Linked DNA regions of Homo sapiens: all the other regions are linked to region 1. Evidence: promoter capture Hi-C in 16 types of primary human blood cells and fetal thymus (Javierre and others, 2016). All regions are on one chromosome and are shown on one strand. Each heading gives the region's core, a stretch centred on a gene start or on the middle of the fragment in contact. The rest is flanking DNA. Distances are from core to core; before and after follow the strand shown.

Region 1 (3,554 bases), core at 424-2,923:
GGAAATAAACACAAAGGCATAAATATATGCCTTACCATAGACACCAAGCAAAACCAAAAGTTGAACCCAGGGCTCTAGACTCCCATTCCGCGCTCCTAGCACAAACTCCATAGAAAGCATAAAAGGGTGGGAAAGAAGGAACTGGCCTAGACTCGGGTTCCATAGCCCTAGACTGGCTGAGGGCAGAGCCCAGGATTTGTGCTGGCTTGGGTCAGGCACTGAGTATGGCCCTAGGAGCTCCTGGCCTGCAGCAGCTGAGGGGGGAAGAGGAGGAAACTGAAGGAAGTGGAAAGGACATGTCCGGGAAGGAGCTAAGCCCCGGGCTTTTCAAAACGTAGAGCAAGAACACACCCATCCTCAGTTCTCCCACCTTTGTGCGAGCCCTTCTCCCACAGGACCAGCACCACATGTTTCCATTGGCACCCTGACAAAGAAGCAAAAAACAGGACCCCCTTTTAAAGCACCTCATCCCGGAGCTCAGCGAGCCGGTTCCCAGGCTGGAGTGGCCAGGAGCCGAGCCGATCCCCAGCGGCGAAGCGGGAGGACTGGGAATCTTGCCTCCGTTCTCCTCCCCGACCACCCACCGGGGAAGCCCCACCACCGTCCTAGAGTCCCTGCCGTCGCCCCTCTCCCCCGCCCCGGTGGGCAGACTGCGGGTCTGCGCCGTCCGGGGTTCTGCGTCGCAGCTGCCGGCCGGAGTCAGCTTCCATAGAGGCCACACGGAACTGCCTGGCGCTCCTCGGGCTGTGGGACCCGTGGGGTTAAGTCTGAGTCCCCGCCCGGCGAGGAGCAGAGAGCGCAGAGTTGGGGCGGTACAGGCCGCCAGGCAGCCGGCGGGGCTAGGAGAGGGAGGAAAGGCGGGATCCTCCGGGAAGTCGATTCTCCGGCGTCCGCCTGCGGCCACTGCCAAATCTTCCCCATTTCTTTCGTCTACTCCCTCCCCTTTTCCCTCGAGGACCGCTGAGTCCAGAGTTTCTAGGATGGGGGTGGGGCGCTGTCAGCAGAAAAAGCCAAGTCTTTGGGCGGCACCCGAGCACGTCCAAACTCTCCCATCCCACTGGCCTGCGCCGGGGTAGAATGTGCCCGGTGAACAGAGAGCCTGGGAGGGACGCGGTGACCTGGGGAGAAGGGGAACCCTGTAGGGTCTGGGCGAGGCTGCAGAGCCCTCTCCTAGCCAAAGCTGCCCAAACTTTCTTCCCCTGGAGTCTCCTTCCACCCCTCTCCCTCCCCTTCCTCCTGGACACCCCCTTAAACGGTCTCCGCCTTCCCTTCTCTCCTCTTCTCTCCCCACCTCGATCCACCCCTTTTCGTCTTCGCCCGCTCCCCCCGCTCTCCTGTCCTCCTCCTCCCTCCCTCTTTGGGCATCCGCCCCGTCAATCTCCGCCGCCGCCGGCCCCAACCCGGCCCCTCTCCGCCTCCCAGGCTCTCAGAGCGCCCCAGGCTCCAGTAGAGCCGCCCTCAGTTCTGCGCGGAGCGGGGCGATCTGTCAGCGGAGCCGGCCGGGGGGAGCCGCCCGGCCCGCCGAGGCTCGGGTTACCAGTGACTGACAGCGTCTCCATGGCGAATAATTTGACTCCGACTATTGTCTGGCGCTGGCAGGCCCCGGGTCAGATAACCGGACCAATCAGGGCGCGGGCCGCCGCGCCTCATGCCCGCTTAGAATAATATTATTAAGAAAGCTGAGAGCCAGCTAGACGGGAGGGAGAACGAGTGAGAAGCGAGCGAGGGAACGGCGGGCGGGCGCGGAGCATGCGGAGCGGCGCCCCGGGCGGCCCCCGGGCTTGGGCGAGGGCTTGGGCCAGGCGCGCGGGCCGTTGGGGTTCGGAGCTTCGTGGGACCCGCGGCCGGCGCGGGGACGTACGGCAGTGACTCGGGGCTCACCGGGGGCCAGTGCCGGGCCAGGGGGCCAGCCCCGCCCGCGTCTCGGCCCGGACGGCCCGGCGAGGAAGCTCCCATGCGGGACCGCGCGGCCCGGTGAGGGCGCGCGCGGGCGGGCGGGGACGCAGCCGGCACCATGTCCATGCTGCCCACCTTCGGCTTCACGCAGGAGCAAGTGGCGTGCGTGTGCGAGGTGCTGCAGCAGGGCGGCAACATCGAGCGGCTGGGCCGCTTCCTGTGGTCGCTGCCCGCCTGCGAGCACCTTCACAAGAATGAAAGCGTGCTCAAGGCCAAGGCCGTGGTGGCCTTCCACCGCGGCAACTTCCGCGAGCTCTACAAGATCCTGGAGAGCCACCAGTTCTCGCCGCACAACCACGCCAAGCTGCAGCAGCTGTGGCTCAAGGCACACTACATCGAGGCGGAGAAGCTGCGCGGCCGACCCCTGGGCGCCGTGGGCAAATACCGCGTGCGCCGCAAATTCCCGCTGCCGCGCTCCATCTGGGACGGCGAGGAGACCAGCTACTGCTTCAAGGAAAAGAGTCGCAGCGTGCTGCGCGAGTGGTACGCGCACAACCCCTACCCTTCACCCCGCGAGAAGCGTGAGCTGGCGGAGGCCACGGGCCTCACCACCACACAGGTCAGCAACTGGTTCAAGAACCGGCGGCAGCGCGACCGGGCGGCCGAGGCCAAGGAAAGGTACGAGTAAGTAGACCTTCTTCGGCGCCAGCTCCCCGGGGCCCAAGGGAGGGGTTCGCAGGGCTTCTGCCGGTCCCCCGGAGAGGCCTAAACTGGGCCCCCAGGCCCGGCCACAGCCCAGCGGCAGCCCGGCCTGACTTGGACGATGCTTAGGCCTTTCTATGCCGGAGACCCGGCGAGCAGGGATTTGTCTAAAGCGGGCAGAGCAATTCAGGAAGTTGTCAACTAACTACTCGGTCGCTAGAGGAAAAGGGTGGAGAAGCAGAGAGCTTCGGGGCAGCGCAGAACTGTGGGCCTGTATCCCCTGTGAGGCAGGCACAGTAGGTCTGGTCATCCTCAGGACAGAGGGGTTTGAGCCCAGATGAAAGGGGATTTGCAGATTTCTTGCTGGTGGTGCTTCCCGGCATTTCCCCCCAGCCTTAGCTCCAGGCCAAAGTGTGATGGGGTCGGGACTGGGGCTGGAACTTCCCTAGAATGACCTGGATGGGGAAAAGCCAGGCCATGAATTTTCGTTGTCACATGGAGTTGAGAGCGGGTCCTTTATCTCCTTAGAAAGGATCCAGAGGTGAAAGGGAGGAAGTGTCAGTTCTGGGAGAGAAGAGACGCATGCCCTGTTTTCTGCCTTGCTAGAGATAGCCGCCCTTCCCTGGCACTCCAGGCCCTTGATGCCTCTCTCCTTAGGCCCTACCTCTGATGGGTAGGTCGGAATGTCTGCGGTGAGCTGAGAGGCACAGAGGGGCTGGGAGTTGGATGTCCTCAGGTAAACCAGGACTTCCTGAACCAGCCTAAAGGTTGATCATTAGGCCCTTGCCACTGCCTGCCCTATAACCCCTCAGGACCTCAAACCTGGAGAGAAACTTATTATGGGAACAGAATCCAGCCCGGGGTAAGAGCAAAACAGGACACCTGGGGTTGGTGATATGGGGTGTGTTCCACCCTGAGTTTGAATGATCAGGGTCAGAGGTGAGGGTGCTGAACCA
Region 2 (3,554 bases), core at 646-3,145, 600 kb before region 1:
GTGAATATCATGGGAAGAGCTATATACTTTGGAGGGATAAAACAACCTCCATCAAATCCAAAACATGTTTTCATTACTCCCAAACCCTATTGCATAGTCTCAGGTGGGTGTCCGGATTATTCCAGGCTTTCAGTCTAAACCCATGAATTTCTTGGAATTCAGCACTTGAGATCCAAAAGTAAACAATAGATTGGGCAATGTCCTAGACAGAAAAGGCAGTTTTTGTGGGAGGGCCTGTTTTATACTTAAGTGATTACAAATTTTCCTTGACAGCGTGTAGTGGGAGTGACTCTCTTATAGAATTCCAAGGGAAATATTCTCTGGACAGTCCTTATTGGCCTTTAGAGTAGGCCACTACCTACATACTTTAATTTTAGAGAACCTGCTTCAGATTTTATTTTCCCCAGATGTCTGATGTCTAAAATCTTAACAGGCTATTTATTTTTGTGATTTTTTTTTTCTTCCCCAGCTGTAAGGCAAAAATCCCTTGTGGGGAGAGGAAAGTCAAGCTTCAATGCTTTGCTGGCCCACTCTTACTCTCCTCCTCACTGTAGTGTGGCTACTACCTGCATACCCAACCCTTGAAGCTAGACTGTTTTGCTTGGGTGTCTGTTTCCTCTGGCTGTATCTGGTTCCTACTCTTGGTCGTAAATTCCTCCAGGGCAGGACTTATGTCAAAAGACTTTGCAGTATATTAGTTCACCTTTACCCTTACTACCTCTGCAATGATTGGAATGTCCCCTTCAAAAATTCAAGTTGAAACTTGTCATTGTAATAGTATGAAGAGGTGGGACCTTTAGGAAATGATTAGGTCATGAATGAGTTAATTCCATTATCACAGGAGGGTTAGTTATTTCGGGAGTCAATTGGGTTCACATGCCTCCCCCACCCCTACCCCAGTATGATGCCCTCCATCATATTTTGACACAACAATAATGCCCTCTGTCTTGGACTTCCCAGCCTTCAGAACTACAAGCCAAACAAATCTCTTTCTTTATAAATCTACCAGTCTATGGTATTTGGTTACAGCAGCAGAAAATTGACCAAGACAACCCCTTACCATAAACCTGAGTAGCAAATGCAACATCAAAAGTAGGTGAATAGTAAGTAGTACATTATTGTTGTTGATTTCTATGATCTGGTTTCTCTTCCCACAATCCTGAACGGTAAGGTGTTCTCTAGTATTTCTTCAGGACCATAAATTGTGAAGGAGACTGTGATTGTAGTAGACAATTCTAGGCCTTCTGGAACCATCACTAAAGGCAACATACGACTGTGCTAATTAAAAGGAAAAAAAAATCCCTAAACAATCTCGGAAACTGATCTTTCCTGGCCAACAATCTCAGATATAGAAGATTAGATTTACTAAATTTAGAAAGAATCCTTTTTTTTTTCCCCCAATCACAAAAATTATCCAGTAAAATCTATGCTCACTTCCGGTAGATCTGCAACAAGGCACGGTCACAGGTCATTTCAATAACTTGCTAGGCTCTTCAGTACTCAGAGTCCCTGGAAATAAGTCATTAGCAGTGGAAAGCTGCTTTTTAGAATTTTCTAAAACAAATCCATGGGGTTTTGATCTGCTAAATTCGAATGTAGACAACAGCAGCCTTATTTCCCTACTTTTATAATCTAATTTATTTGGCTGTATCTGTGGGCTTAAGAGTTTAGTGTTCTTGGTAAATAACACGTAAAAAAAAAGTCATTTTTCATTTCTACGAACCAGCCCCACCCCGGCGCTCCCTCGGGATCCTCGCTCTAGCCCCGCCTCCGTCCAGCCTGGCTCCGCCCCGTTCGGTAGCGCCGCGCCTTGGAGGTCTGTGGCTAACTTGGTCCGGAAGAAGCGAGGCGGACCTTCTGGCGTTTGAAAAACTTCCGGCGGGAACCGGAAGGTGCGGTGGCACTCACGGAATCTCGGGTCTTCTGACGTGCCGGGCGGGAAGGTGAGCTGTGCGTGCGCCTTGGCGGTCGTCTTGCGGGTTCTCAAGAGCCCGGCGTCCGGGCTCCGGGATCTTTGGGGCCATTAAAAAAGTTCTGAGCGCTCATTTGGGCAATAACACCCCTTTTTTAAAAGTGAGAAGTTCATTACATTTTACTGTCAGCGGTCTCTCACAACCGACCACCCGAAAACCCCTCCTAGCTACCTCGTGACACCTCTTTTCAGCCAAATTGCTGCAGCTCTTAGCGCATAACAGACATAGAAAAGCCTGGGCAAGCCTGTTTTTTTTTTTTTTGAGACGGAGTCTCCCTCTGTCGCCCAGGCTGGAGTGTAGTGGAGCGATCTCGGCTCACTGCAAGCTCCGCCTCCCGGATTCACGCCATTCGCCTGCCTCAGCCTCCCGAGTAGCTGGGGCTACAGGCGCCCGTCATCACACCCGGCTAATTTACCTGGATTGTTTTTATACCTAAAATTATCGGAGGTGGGAGAGGAAGCACCCTTTTCACGGTCATGGTGGCCCTGTCTGAATCAACTGCACCTTCTGTAGTGCGCCTGGCATGTAGGAGGCGCTCAGTAACCGGAGGAAAGGAATGAATTGGGAACTCTCTAGGCAACTTTCCTCGAACCCCTCACGTGACATGTCATTAACATATTGTGTGTGGAATGGGAAACGAGACTAGTCTTGGTGTTCCAGGCACTGGGCTATAGTCCTTTGCCACATATCTTTCCCCTTTGAGTAAACTGTTTCACCTCATTGGGTCTCAGATTTCTGAATATAGCGGGACTGTCTGATCTCAGGTTCTTTCAGCTCTAGTATTTTGTTTTTGTGACTTGGGAATCTGCTAACATTCAAGCACTCTGTTGGTCCTTCATGGAAACTTGTTTAGGTGCTTCTTAAGAAATTGTCCTCCTTTGTTTGCCTTCTTGAATTTAAATTTTTTTTTCCAATTTTAATTTAGTATTTGTTAGTGTGCACGTCCTTTTGCCCCTTTGTCCTGATTTGCAGTCGTCCTAGTTTAGTGGCTCTTCCCTTAGTAACATCATAGCAACCTCCAAATTATTGGTTTGGAATATGCTCATGTGCCTACAGTGATTAAGATAGTTTGAAAGGAGGGAAAAATCCCAAGTCACTGAAGAATAGGAATATTCTTATGTGCCATCACTTCTTCAGAAAGAGATGAATGCAATGTGTGGCATTGCCTAAGAGTGGTGGAAAATAAATGTATATTCCTCTGTAGAGACCATATTTGTACATATTATGTTCATTTAATAGTTGTAGGGCATCTGTTAAGTGCTAGGTTCTATGATATGGAAGTGAATAAGGCACATGCATTTCCTTCTTTCATGGTATTTACTCTCTTGACAGCAGTGCAAGCAATAAACAAGTAAAATAAAAATAATTACAGATTGTGTTATAACCTACTGTATACAGGAAGTAAATAGGCTCCTTTTAAAATATAATTGAGAAACCTATTTTAGGCCTGAAATGTTAAGATCTAAGGGATGCAAGGAGCCAGCCAATTGACAAGCAGGGGGAAGAATACTCCAGGCAGAGAGTACCTGAGGTGGGAAAGAATGTTATGACAAGAGCTGAGGAGCTCCAGCAAGTAGTAAA
Region 3 (3,554 bases), core at 671-3,170, 570 kb before region 1:
GTGTACATTCTTCAAGTGTACAAAAAAGATCTGATTAAAATTGGATTATCATTCTACTATGAAGCCATTTTAAAAGTATTAAGGGTAATTTTTATAACAAGCTTGACAAGCTTTCTGTTATTTTGGGGGAACTTGCATCTCACTTTTCTACCTCTTGACGTTCTTTTAGTGTCAGGAGAATTAAAGTGCTAATATGTGGAAAGTTATACTTCATTGAGAGGCAGAATCAATTTGCCAATGTAAAAATATAAATGACTAAATCAAATAGTCTCAGATGCAAATGTTCCAGAGCCAGGCTAGGATAATCAAGCATGGGGAATAAGAATTGGAGATTACAAACCCTGTCTAAGAGGGGCAACCCTTGCTCGTCTCCAGTAGATTACTGTCATGCAGGGTTGTCTGCCCAGTTTGCTGGTTCTTCCTGTTTCTGAAAAGAAGCTGGTAATTTGAGTTTTTACGTAACAAATTTCTAGGCCAAACAAAACCACTCTTGACCACACCTAGAAGGCCAGCAGTTTGCAAATTCTGAAGTAAGCTTTCTGTTTGGTTGAAGGCAAGGTAATTAAGAAAGTCTGAGGGTTTTGGATCTGAAATTGGAGAAAGCCTCACAAGCAAGAAAAGCTTGCTTAAAAAATTAAAGGGTAGTCTAACAATATTTGGTTGTATGGGAGACAAATAGGAGCTGTATATCAAGAATATTATTATTTTCTTTTTCTTTAAAAAACCCTTCTATTGCAAAAGAATTCCATTCTCTGGGTTTCTATGAATAGGGGAATACATTGAATATTAGTAGAGGAGTGAATATTCCTTGAAGTAAGTGGGGGCATTGACTGGAACTTAAGAGATCTTTTTCTATAATACAGAAATTTCTTTCTGGTAATGAGATATGATCTTTATTTTTTCTTGAGCTCAGCATTTTCTATAACTAGAGCATTGATTTTCAATTTGTTAATTGCTACCCCTACATGAGAAGTAAAACCAATTTAATAAGTCATACCACTTAAAAAATGAAATAGTGAATAGAAAATACAAGAGTACATTTATGTGGTAAAGGCAAATATTGTTTCATGAAATGTTTCAATTATGTAGCATCTATATGTATGTATACTGGGTTGCAACGTAAAACATTTTTAAATTCACTGTTGAAAAGTGAATTAAAGAGTATGATTCTGGATAGTAAGAAAAGTTTTCTGTATTTTTCTCTAAAGATAATTCTCTTCTTCCTTATATGCAGGCTAATAGGACAAAAGGAATTGGCTTTTTGTTAAAATGACCTGGTAGGCTTTAGCCCTTGAAAACAGTCTTGGGCTACCATGACTATAGAAGACATACAGGTTGTAATCTAAGTACTGCATATTCTTCTTTTTAATTTATATTCTTCTCTTTAATTTATAGTCTTCTGCCTTTAGTTTTTTTTTTTTAATTTACAAGTAGATTTAATTTTCTTTTCCATCGATCATTTTGAATAAATCATATTATCATCTCTAACTTTTGCCCATCATTTTAGCAATACCATTATTAGGCAGATTCTATAAATAGGAGGTAATACAATAGGATGAGAAGCATTAACTGTAACAACAGGATTGTATATTCACAGTGAAAACCTGTTGTAAAGTGGGGGAACTACTGTGCCCACCCTTCCTTTTGTCGTTAGTTGTTTAGTGATCCCTGTAAATTGATTCCTGGAATCAACTTTTCTACATGGAATCCTGGTTCTTTTTAGTGGGGAATGGTATTTGGAAACCAATTATGGGTGCTAGGTGTGCCCATCCTGAGCAGTGATACTCCAGTAGCAATGAGCATATCTAGTACCTATACCTTGGTTTTTAAGTATCATTCTTCTGATTCCAGGGCTGGGGCAGGGAAACTAGAAGATAAGCCTGAAATATCATATGCCAGAGAATAAGGAAGTGCTCGCAGAATGACAGATACATGTCAAAAGGACACAGAAGCTAGCTTGAAGGGGTTACTTTTGGCCAAATCTGGAAAAATTTGAACATTAAGATAAATGATAGCAATGGATTGTAGCACTAAGTAAAATAAAAAACCATTAAATCTATAGTGATATAAATAAATCAGTGAATAAATTCAAAGTTTAATGAGGAATGGGATAATTATATAGTCTCAAAGTACCTCTCCACAAAATACTTATAATTACAAGAGGAATAAAGAGTACCTGTGTCTTGGAGAAACCCACAGATACTACCTTAATCAAATGATCAAAGTTAATTAGTAATGAGACAAATCAAAATCATTTGTCACCTAATAACGTGTAGTAAGAACACAGTATGACTTCTATGATATTTCTGCCAAAGATGCTCCATCGGTATTTAATTGTGAGGAAACATCAGAGAAACCCAAGCTGCAGGACATTCTACAAAATAACTGTCCAGTAGCGTTCAAAAACATCAAGGCCTTATCAAGGAGAAGAAAATCAAGGAGAGACTAAAATATTGTTTTAGCTTGAAGGAGACTGTAGTTGCATGCCAACTACATGTAACCCATAATTCTTAACTGAATCCACTATAAAGGATATTATTGGGACAGTTGGTAAAACCTGAATGAGCTCTGCATTAGATGGTAGTAATATATTAGTGTTAATTACCTGATAATGATGGTTATTTTGTGGTTATGTAGAAGATTTGTATTTGTAGGAAATCACACTAAAGTGTTGGAGTGCAGGGATGTTAACTTATTCTCAAACAGTTCAGAGACAATAAAGTTCCTTTTACTTTACCTGCAACTTTTCTGTAAGTTTGAGGTAGCTTTGAAAAGAAAGTTTTGACATACAGTTTTGGTATATTACAAAAGTTTCTCTTTTCAGGGCTGTTGCAAAGAAAGTTCATAGTACAATCCAGAAAATTAAGAAGGAAGGGAAGATGTCTGAGTGCTTGTTAAAAGCCATGCTGAATTGTAAAACTTTTGAAGAACTAGAACACGTGGTAAGGAATCCTTTTTATCTTTTAATGTAATACCTGAATATATTGCAATTTGGGTCTTCTTATGATTAAAGAACACCAAGAAATAAAAAGCTAACGTCATTAGCCACCATTATTTAATGCAACAAAATATTTATTCTTTATTCAATAAATATTTATAGAGTGTTTTTTTTGTGCTAGGCACTTGGGTTTACAAAGATGAATAAATACATAGTCTTTGTCTCAAGGAATTTCCAGTCAAGTAGGGAAGGACAGTAGATTATACAAACGTGAAGCTTATCAGAGAGGGCTGAACTAGAGATCCAGATGTGGATGTCTTCAGCCTGTAGTTGGTACGTGAAACCATGAGAATGGAAGAACTCAAGAAGTGTTTGTTAGCAGGTCAGGATTGACCACTGGAGGTTACCACCTTTTGAAGTGTGGATGGAGGATGTGAGAGCATAAGGAGGTAGGAAAAAAATAGAGAAGTATGAGGAGAATCAGGAGATGATGGTGCCCTGGAACAGCAGGGAAGAGAGTTTTAGATGGAGGTCATGATCAGCAGTTATGTGTAGCAGAGAAGTTTGGCAGAATGAAGACTGAAAAAAATATATATATTTGGTAATTAGGAGATCA
Region 4 (3,554 bases), core at 436-2,935, 550 kb before region 1:
TTTATTACCCTTTTTATTTGTTAAGGGAGCCTTTTAAAATAGCACCATGTTTGTATAATACTTTTTACTTTTAGTTTTAATTTTTCAGAGTGTAATTGATCCTCACAAAAATCTATTTAGTTGGTAGAGCAGATTTTGTAGCCACCACTTAGCCAGTGAGAAAACTGATACAAAGAGGTAAGTAAAGTGGCTTCCTAGCAGCTAGGAGATGTAAATTTTGATAAAGTTCATCACCAGCTAGTTCTGTGTAACTTTAGGATAAAGAGATTGCTAGGAATGATACTTAAAAAGTTAGATGACTTGTTCTTTGAAAATAAGTATCATGGATTTTGGAAATCAGTTATCTCATTCAACACAACTGTTTTGTTAATTCATTAAAAGCAATGAAGGATCAACTTGCTTAACAACCAAATACTACTAACTAAGCAACCATTAAGTAAAACAACAGTCTAAATGTTAATCAATAGGTAAATTGCTTAAGCCAATTATGTTATATCCATATGGTGGAATTCTGTGCAGCCATTTTGAAAAAGTGGAAATAGAGCTGAAGTTGAAATATGAACATGTCTTACTAAGTTAAAAAGACAATTTACAATTAGCATTTATTTATAGTATGATTTCACTAGTGGCAAATAAGTGTCTTTATATTACTGTGTATATTTTTCTATATAGTTTCTTTTCTTTTTCTTTTTTTGAGAGACAGGGTCTCACTCTGTTGCCTAGGCTGGAGCACACAGGTGCTATCATAGCTCACTACAGCCTCAATCTCCCAGACTCCAGTGATTCTCCCACTTTAGTCTCCTGTGTAGCTGGGACCATAGGTGCATACCGCTGGCTAAACTTTTTTTTTTTTTTTTATTTAAGAGATGAGGTCTTGCCATGTTGCCCAGGCTGGTCTTGAACTCCTGGGCTCAAGCGGTCCTTCTATCTGAGCCTCCCAAAATGCTGGCGTGACAGGCGTGACCCACCATGCCTGGCTAGTTGTCATTTTTTATGAATGCTTATTTCCTTTATAAATAAGCAAATAAATTCCAATGAAAGGAAAGAGGAAATGTATGCCTAAAAGAAATGCTAGATTTAAAAAATTAGGAAATTAGATAATTTAAGATATGACAAAACTCTAAGATAGTTTCATAGAGGAAACTCCTAAGAAGTAGATATATTTGAGTTTGAATTCCAGTTATATTACTTTCTACCTCTGCACCTATGGGCATGCTACTTAATTTCTTTCTCAGTTTTGTCTATCCTTAAAATGGTAATACTTTACTTGTAGATTTGAGAGAATTAAATGATAATCTACGTAACTGTATAGCACAATGTCTGGTGAAGAACAGGCCTTTGATGGTATCTGTTATTACAAAGTAGTGGGATTATTGTGCTAATTCTTTTTAGAAATGTTTTAGTAAATCACAAAGACAATTTCTGGCTTATTTTTCTGTAAATATTCATAATACTCAGTATCAGAGTCAGTCCTCAGTAGTTAAAGAAAAAATATGCTTTTAACCTATTTATTATCTTTAGACTAAGTAAATGTCAAGGAATTTTTTTACAGTGATTTATTTTTCCATGGCTTATTTATATTTTATTTAGTTCTCCAATTGAAAAATTTGTAATATTATTTAGCCTACAATGTAACATGTTACATCATTATGGCATAGTAATATAATTTTCAGTCAGGTTTGGAAGTTTTTCTTTTTCTTTTTTTTCTTTTCTTTTTTGAGACAGGGTCTCACTCTGTCTGTCACTCATGCTGGAGTGCAGTGGCATGATCTTGGCTCACTGCAGCCTTGACTTCCCAGTTTCAAGCTGTCCTCTCACCTGAGCCTCCTGAGTAGCTGGGACTACAGGTGCGCACCACCACACCCAGCTAAATTTTTCTTTCTTGTAGAGACAGGGGTTTTGCCATATTTCCCAGGCTGTTCTCAAACTCCTGAACTCAAGTGATCCACCAACTTCCGCCTCCCAAAGTACTGGGATGAACCACCCCAGGCATGAACCACCATGCCCGGCCTGAAACTTTTTCTTCATTTAGATAATTCCAAGAGCTGAAACACTTTTCTAGGACCTAAAAAATTATTCTCAAAAGAACTTTTTTTTTTCCTTTAAGCACATGTGAATGACTAGAAATGCTTACTTGATGAATCTTCTAGTTCCTTTTTTTACTCTCTTTTTCCCTATTTCTTCACCCTCTTCTGTATGTACTTATCCATTCAAGTTATGTGCTAGATTTTGGAGATTCCCCTGTAAATTAGACAGATATACTGCTTATCCATGATGACAGCGTAGTTTAATGAGAACAACACTGGGAAAATCATTACGAGTATGTTGAGATTATGAAGGAAAAGTGTAGTAAGAAGAAGAAAAGTGCTTGTAACAGAGCCCTGAGTAGTGTGGACTTGACAGCTAGGTAGGTTGGAGATAGAAGGAGAAGGAAGAGAAGTGACATGGAATGAAGATTGAGATGTTGACACAGGTTAGATCATACATAGCTTTCAGGTATGCTAAAGATTTTTTTCTTTTAAGGATGGTGGGAAGCCAATAAGGATTTTAAATACAGGAGTGTGATGATCAGATTGCATTTTAAGATCACTCAGGCCACAGTGTAGATAATTATTTGGAAGGAATCAAGAGTAGATATGGCACAAGAGATTATGGTAGCTTAGACTAGGGTGGTAGCAATAGGGAATAAGTAGATAGATTTGGGCAATATTTAGGAGGTAGACAGGGGCAGGACAAGGTATCTGATTAAATGGTGGGTGGATTGGTTAGGGAGAGGTGAAGTGAAGCATGAAATTTGTGTGGCGGCTGGGCGTGGTGGCTCACGCCTGTAATCCCAGCACTTTGGGAGACCAAGGTGAGAGGATCACCTGAGATCAGGAGTTCAAGACTTTGAGACCAACCTGACCAACATGGCGAAACCCTGTCTCTACACAAAATACAAAAATTAACCAGGCATGGTGGTGCATGCGTGTAACCCCAGCTACTTGGGAGGCTGAGGCAGGAGAATTGCTTGAACCCAGGAGGTGGAGGTTGCAGTGAGCCGAGATTGCGCCATTGCACTCCAGCCTGGGTGACAAGAGTGAAACTCCATCTCAAAAAAAAAAAAAAAAAAAAAAATAATTGTGTGGCTTGAACAATAAGGTAGATGATATAGTTACTATCACACTATAAATATATTAAGAACTATGTAATAGGGCAAATAGTGATTTAAATGGCAGTCTTGTCATTACATAAGTTAATTAGCATAACAAGGAATAATTTAAAGCTAATGTATTAGTATTAAAACTAATATTTAGGTCCAGATTCAGCAAATGAACAATTCCTCATTTGGAATTGTATGTTACTAGTACAAGATAAGTATGAAGAGGATTTCTAAGCTTTTTAGATGCTGAAATAGTTGCTGTGTTTGTGAGAACCTCAGTAATTTAAGTTTCTGCATTTGCTCTCTAAATAAAAACGTATCTAAGGAAATTTTTTTTAAAAAATTAAGAAAACTTCTTTTTAGAGACATTATCTCACTATGTTGCTCAGGCTGGTCTCAAACTCCTGGATTT
Region 5 (3,554 bases), core at 373-2,872, 530 kb before region 1:
TATCACAATTAGTTTATTCAATCACCTGTTGATGGATATTCGAGTTGTTGCTAGTTTTTTGCTACTACCAATAAAGCAGCATGAGCATTCATTTACAAGTCTGTATGGATATATGCTGTCATTTCTCTTAGGTAAATAGCTAGGTGTGGAAAGTCTGTGTTGTGTGGTATATGGTATACGGTACATGTTTAACTTAAGAAACTGTCAAGCTTTTTCCCAAGATGGTTGTACCATCTTACTTTCCCACCAACAATGTATCAGAATTCTAGTGGTGGCAGTGGCAGCCCATCTGGAGCAGCTGCTGGGAAGACACTGGCTGCAGCAGGGGAGTTGTGGCTTGGGTTGCATGCTCCACAGGTGATGGGAGCCCCACCTCCTACCAGGTTAGTGGGGCAGAGGAGCCCCATGCTCCTGGGCGCAGTTGCAGCTGCCCAGCTACAGCTCTGGACCTGGGCATCCCTGCACTCTCAGGGGCCTGCGATGCCCCTTCCCCTGCAGGCTCGGAAGTACCTGCTCCACCTCCCTGGCCTCTCCCTGCTCCCAGCACCCGCTCCAGAACAGAGCAAAGTTGTGGCCGAGCCTAGGCACTGTTGCGACCTGGACAGGTGTGCCTGCACTCGAGGCAGTGCTGACACCAGCCCCTGCTGCCTCAGCCTGTTCAGGATTTTGGGCACCAACCAACACAGGAGTGAGGCTGGGGTGGGGTGATGGCTAAGGGCAGCTTGGCACAGGCCTACAGGTGTCCCCTGGCACAAACAGCCCATGCACCATGGATGCATGCTGATGGTGGGAGGCAGACATTCCTGTGCAGCAAGGGGCAGGTCTCAGTGAAACCCCCACCTCCAAGCCAGGGCCTACGTGAAGTCTGGAGGCCAGGTTGCCAGTTCTGGGTGGAGTCTGTGGCCGGGAGTGTGAACTTATGGTACTTTTTCCAGACATGCCCATGGCTGCCCATGGACCAATCAGCATGCATTCCTCCCTTCTGAGCCCATAAAAACCCTGGACTCAGCCAGACTGACACAAATGTTGGGACTACCAGCTATGGGAAGGAGCCACCCACTTTGGGTCTGCTCTCTGCTGAGAGCTGGACACTTGTCAGGAGACCTGTCTGCAGAATGGGGCTACCCACTGCCCATCTCCTCTCCACTGGGAGCTGGACACTCATTGGGATAACCTGCCTGCAGAAAGGGGCTACCCACTGTGGGTCTCCTCTCTGCTGAGAGCTAGACACTCATTGGGACAACCTGCCTGCGGAAAGGAGCTGCCCGCTTTGGGTCTTCTGAGAGCTGTTCTGTCACTCAGTGAAGTTCCTCTCTGCCTTGCTCACCCTCCAGTTGTCCACATACCTCATTCTTCTTGGACATGGGACAAGAACTCTGGTTCCACCAAATGGTGGATCTGAAACAGCTGTAACACAAACAGGGCTGAAACATGCCCTCCTGCCTGCCATGCTGCAGACCTTGAGAAGGAGAAAAGAGCTGCAGCCCTTTGGGGAGCCCAGACCTAGGTGCTCCCTAAGCCAGGGCTATGGCACCCTCTTTGGGACTCTCTGGTTCCTGGCATCTCCCACCTTCCAGGAACCACTGTGTTCCCCTCGTCCAGATGTGGGTGTCTGCAGTGGTAGTTGCATGTGATATATCTGGTCCAGCCACAGCCTTGCATGGCACCACCTGCCCTGCCACAGCTGGCACGCCTAGCTCTGCACAGTGGCCGGACCCTGTGCTCACTCACACACCGCTCACCGCACTACGCCTGGCTCACCCTTGGCAGGGTGAGATCTGGGCCAGTAGCACCAGCCAAGCACAGCCTGCCAGCTTGAGTGAGTGGAACGAGCCCAGGGGGCCTGAGCAAAACTCGGACAAAGGCACCACTGGCCACAGAGGTGTCTGGCTGGAAAAGTGACACCCTAAGGATTCCGTAACACTAGTTTCTCTGTATCCTCAATGGAATTATGAAGTTATGGTCAGTGCTTGGTATGGTCAGCCTTTTAAATTTAGCTGCCCTAGTGGATATGTAGTGATATCTCATTGTGGTTTTAATCTGCATTTTCCTAGTGATTAATGATCATGAGCATCTTCATTTGCTTATTTGCCATCCATGTATCTTCTTTAGTGAGGTATCTGTTCAAATCTTTGCATTTAAAAAAATGGATTGTTTTCCTTGTGATTATTGAATAAGAGTATTTTTATTTATTCTGAATTAAGCCCTTTGTCAGGTATATGTTTCATAAACATTTTTTCCCAGTCTGTGACTTTTCACTTTTTTTTAAACAGGATCTTTTGAATGGCAAAAATTTTAGTTTTGAGAAAGTCCAATTTATCAATTTTTTGGTATAGTTTTTGCTTTTTGTTTTCTATTCTGGAAATTTTGGCAAAATCAAGGTTACTGTGATTTTCTTCTGTTTTGTACTAGAAGTTTTATAGTTTTAACTCATTAAGTCTGTAATTTAATTTTTGGAGAATTGACATCCACTCATTTAATTTTTTTTTTTTTTTTTTAAGATGGACTCTCTCTCTGTCGCCCAGGCTGGAGTGCAGCAGCACAATCTCAGCTCACTGCAGCCTCTGCCTCCTGGGTTCAAGTGATTCTCCTGCCTCAGCCTCCTGAGTAGCTGGGATTACAGGCGCCTGCCACCATGCCCAGCTAATTTTTGTATTTTTAGTAGAGACAGGGTTTCACTGTGTTGGTCAGGCTGGTCTTGAACTCCTGACCTCATGATCCGCCTGCCATGGCCTCCCAAAGTGCTGGGGTTACAGGCGTGAGCCACCATGCCTGGCCCATTCAATTTTTAATTTCAGTTTTATTTTTCATCTAGAAGTTCTGTGTTTTTCAAATCTGCTTGATGATTCTGTCACTTTTTTCCTGGCTATATTTTCAAGCCTGTCTTTTTTTAAACCATGTTAAATTTTGCATTTTACAATCTGTGTAATAATTCTAGAATCCTTGTAATTTTATTTCTGCTATATGCTGTAATTGCTGGTTCTGCTTTGTGATGCTTTCTTTCCTTTTTTGTTCAGTTCTTAAGGTAAGCTTTTTATTTTGGTGGAACTTTGTGGGAATTCATTTAGGCCTGGACTGATGGTAAGTTGCTTCAAAGAGGATTTGCATTTGCTTCTGCTACACTCCCTTAGATACTACCAGTTTGGGATCACTTAAATTAAATTCTCGGCTTGAGTTTTTTTCTGACCACCCAGGTAGTGTGAATTTAGGCTGCAGACCAGACAGATGGCTTATAGTTCCATATTCTCATCAGTAGTTCCCCGCTACATCAGCCCGTGACTGAGTTTGAGATAGTCCATTTTCATTGTGATCTCCTGGGGGTAGAGTATAGTGAGTTATAGTTCTGTTTTATTCTTACACTGAGGGTTTAACCTAACTCTGGAGTCCTAGCTTTACATATGTGAGAGTAGGTGGGGGATCTTTTGTTAACATCTATATCTTAGGTGGATCCTGGGTTTTCTATTTTATTCTTCTGGTTCTGTGAAGCTCTGTGAGGCCATGAAACTTGAAAATAAAATGCACTTGGTTCAGCAGATGCCCTCAGCTGAAAGTCA

What was found. Contacts are between HindIII fragments. The CHiCAGO score rates a contact against its expected background, and 5 or more counts as called.
Region 2: a contact is called between the fragment with the promoter of SRBD1 here and the fragment with the promoter of SIX2 in region 1, in 1 of 17 cell types (megakaryocytes). The highest score is 5.0, in megakaryocytes.
Region 3: a contact is called between a fragment that was not itself captured here and the fragment with the promoter of SIX2 in region 1, in 8 of 17 cell types (M2 macrophages, megakaryocytes, M0 macrophages and 5 more). The highest score is 7.9, in M2 macrophages.
Region 4: a fragment that was not itself captured here is called in contact with the fragment with the promoter of SIX2 in region 1 in 2 of 17 cell types (erythroblasts and megakaryocytes); the score reaches 5.4 in erythroblasts.
Region 5: a fragment that was not itself captured here is called in contact with the fragment with the promoter of SIX2 in region 1 in 2 of 17 cell types (monocytes and endothelial precursors); the score reaches 5.6 in monocytes.

The regions. Positions count from the first base shown.
Region 1 is chr2:45,007,571-45,011,124 of GRCh38, reverse strand. SIX2 (SIX homeobox 2) reads left to right here and starts at 1,673. Exons shown (of 2, transcript NM_016932.5): 1 at 1,673-2,574. The coding sequence starts at 2,015. RefSeq lists enhancers at 601-1,200, 2,205-2,978. The HindIII fragment of the contact is 4,145 bases long and covers 1-3,554 here.
Region 2 is chr2:45,609,608-45,613,161 of GRCh38, reverse strand. SRBD1 (S1 RNA binding domain 1) reads left to right here and starts at 1,895. Exons shown (of 21, transcript NM_018079.5): 1 at 1,895-1,943. RefSeq lists an enhancer at 2,075-2,244. The HindIII fragment of the contact is 4,677 bases long and covers 512-3,554 here.
Region 3 is chr2:45,581,081-45,584,634 of GRCh38, reverse strand. It overlaps SRBD1 (S1 RNA binding domain 1), which reads left to right. Exons shown (of 21, transcript NM_018079.5): 6 at 2,825-2,942. Among named protein-coding and RNA genes, the nearest start is that of SRBD1, 28 kb to the left of the region's middle. The HindIII fragment of the contact is 2,593 bases long and covers 624-3,216 here.
Region 4 is chr2:45,558,249-45,561,802 of GRCh38, reverse strand. The region is part of intron 10 of SRBD1 (S1 RNA binding domain 1); the gene reads left to right. Among named protein-coding and RNA genes, the nearest start is that of SRBD1, 51 kb to the left of the region's middle. The HindIII fragment of the contact is 3,389 bases long and covers 1-3,379 here.
Region 5 is chr2:45,539,285-45,542,838 of GRCh38, reverse strand. All of the region lies in intron 14 of SRBD1 (S1 RNA binding domain 1), which reads left to right. Among named protein-coding and RNA genes, the nearest start is that of SRBD1, 70 kb to the left of the region's middle. The HindIII fragment of the contact is 2,821 bases long and covers 212-3,032 here.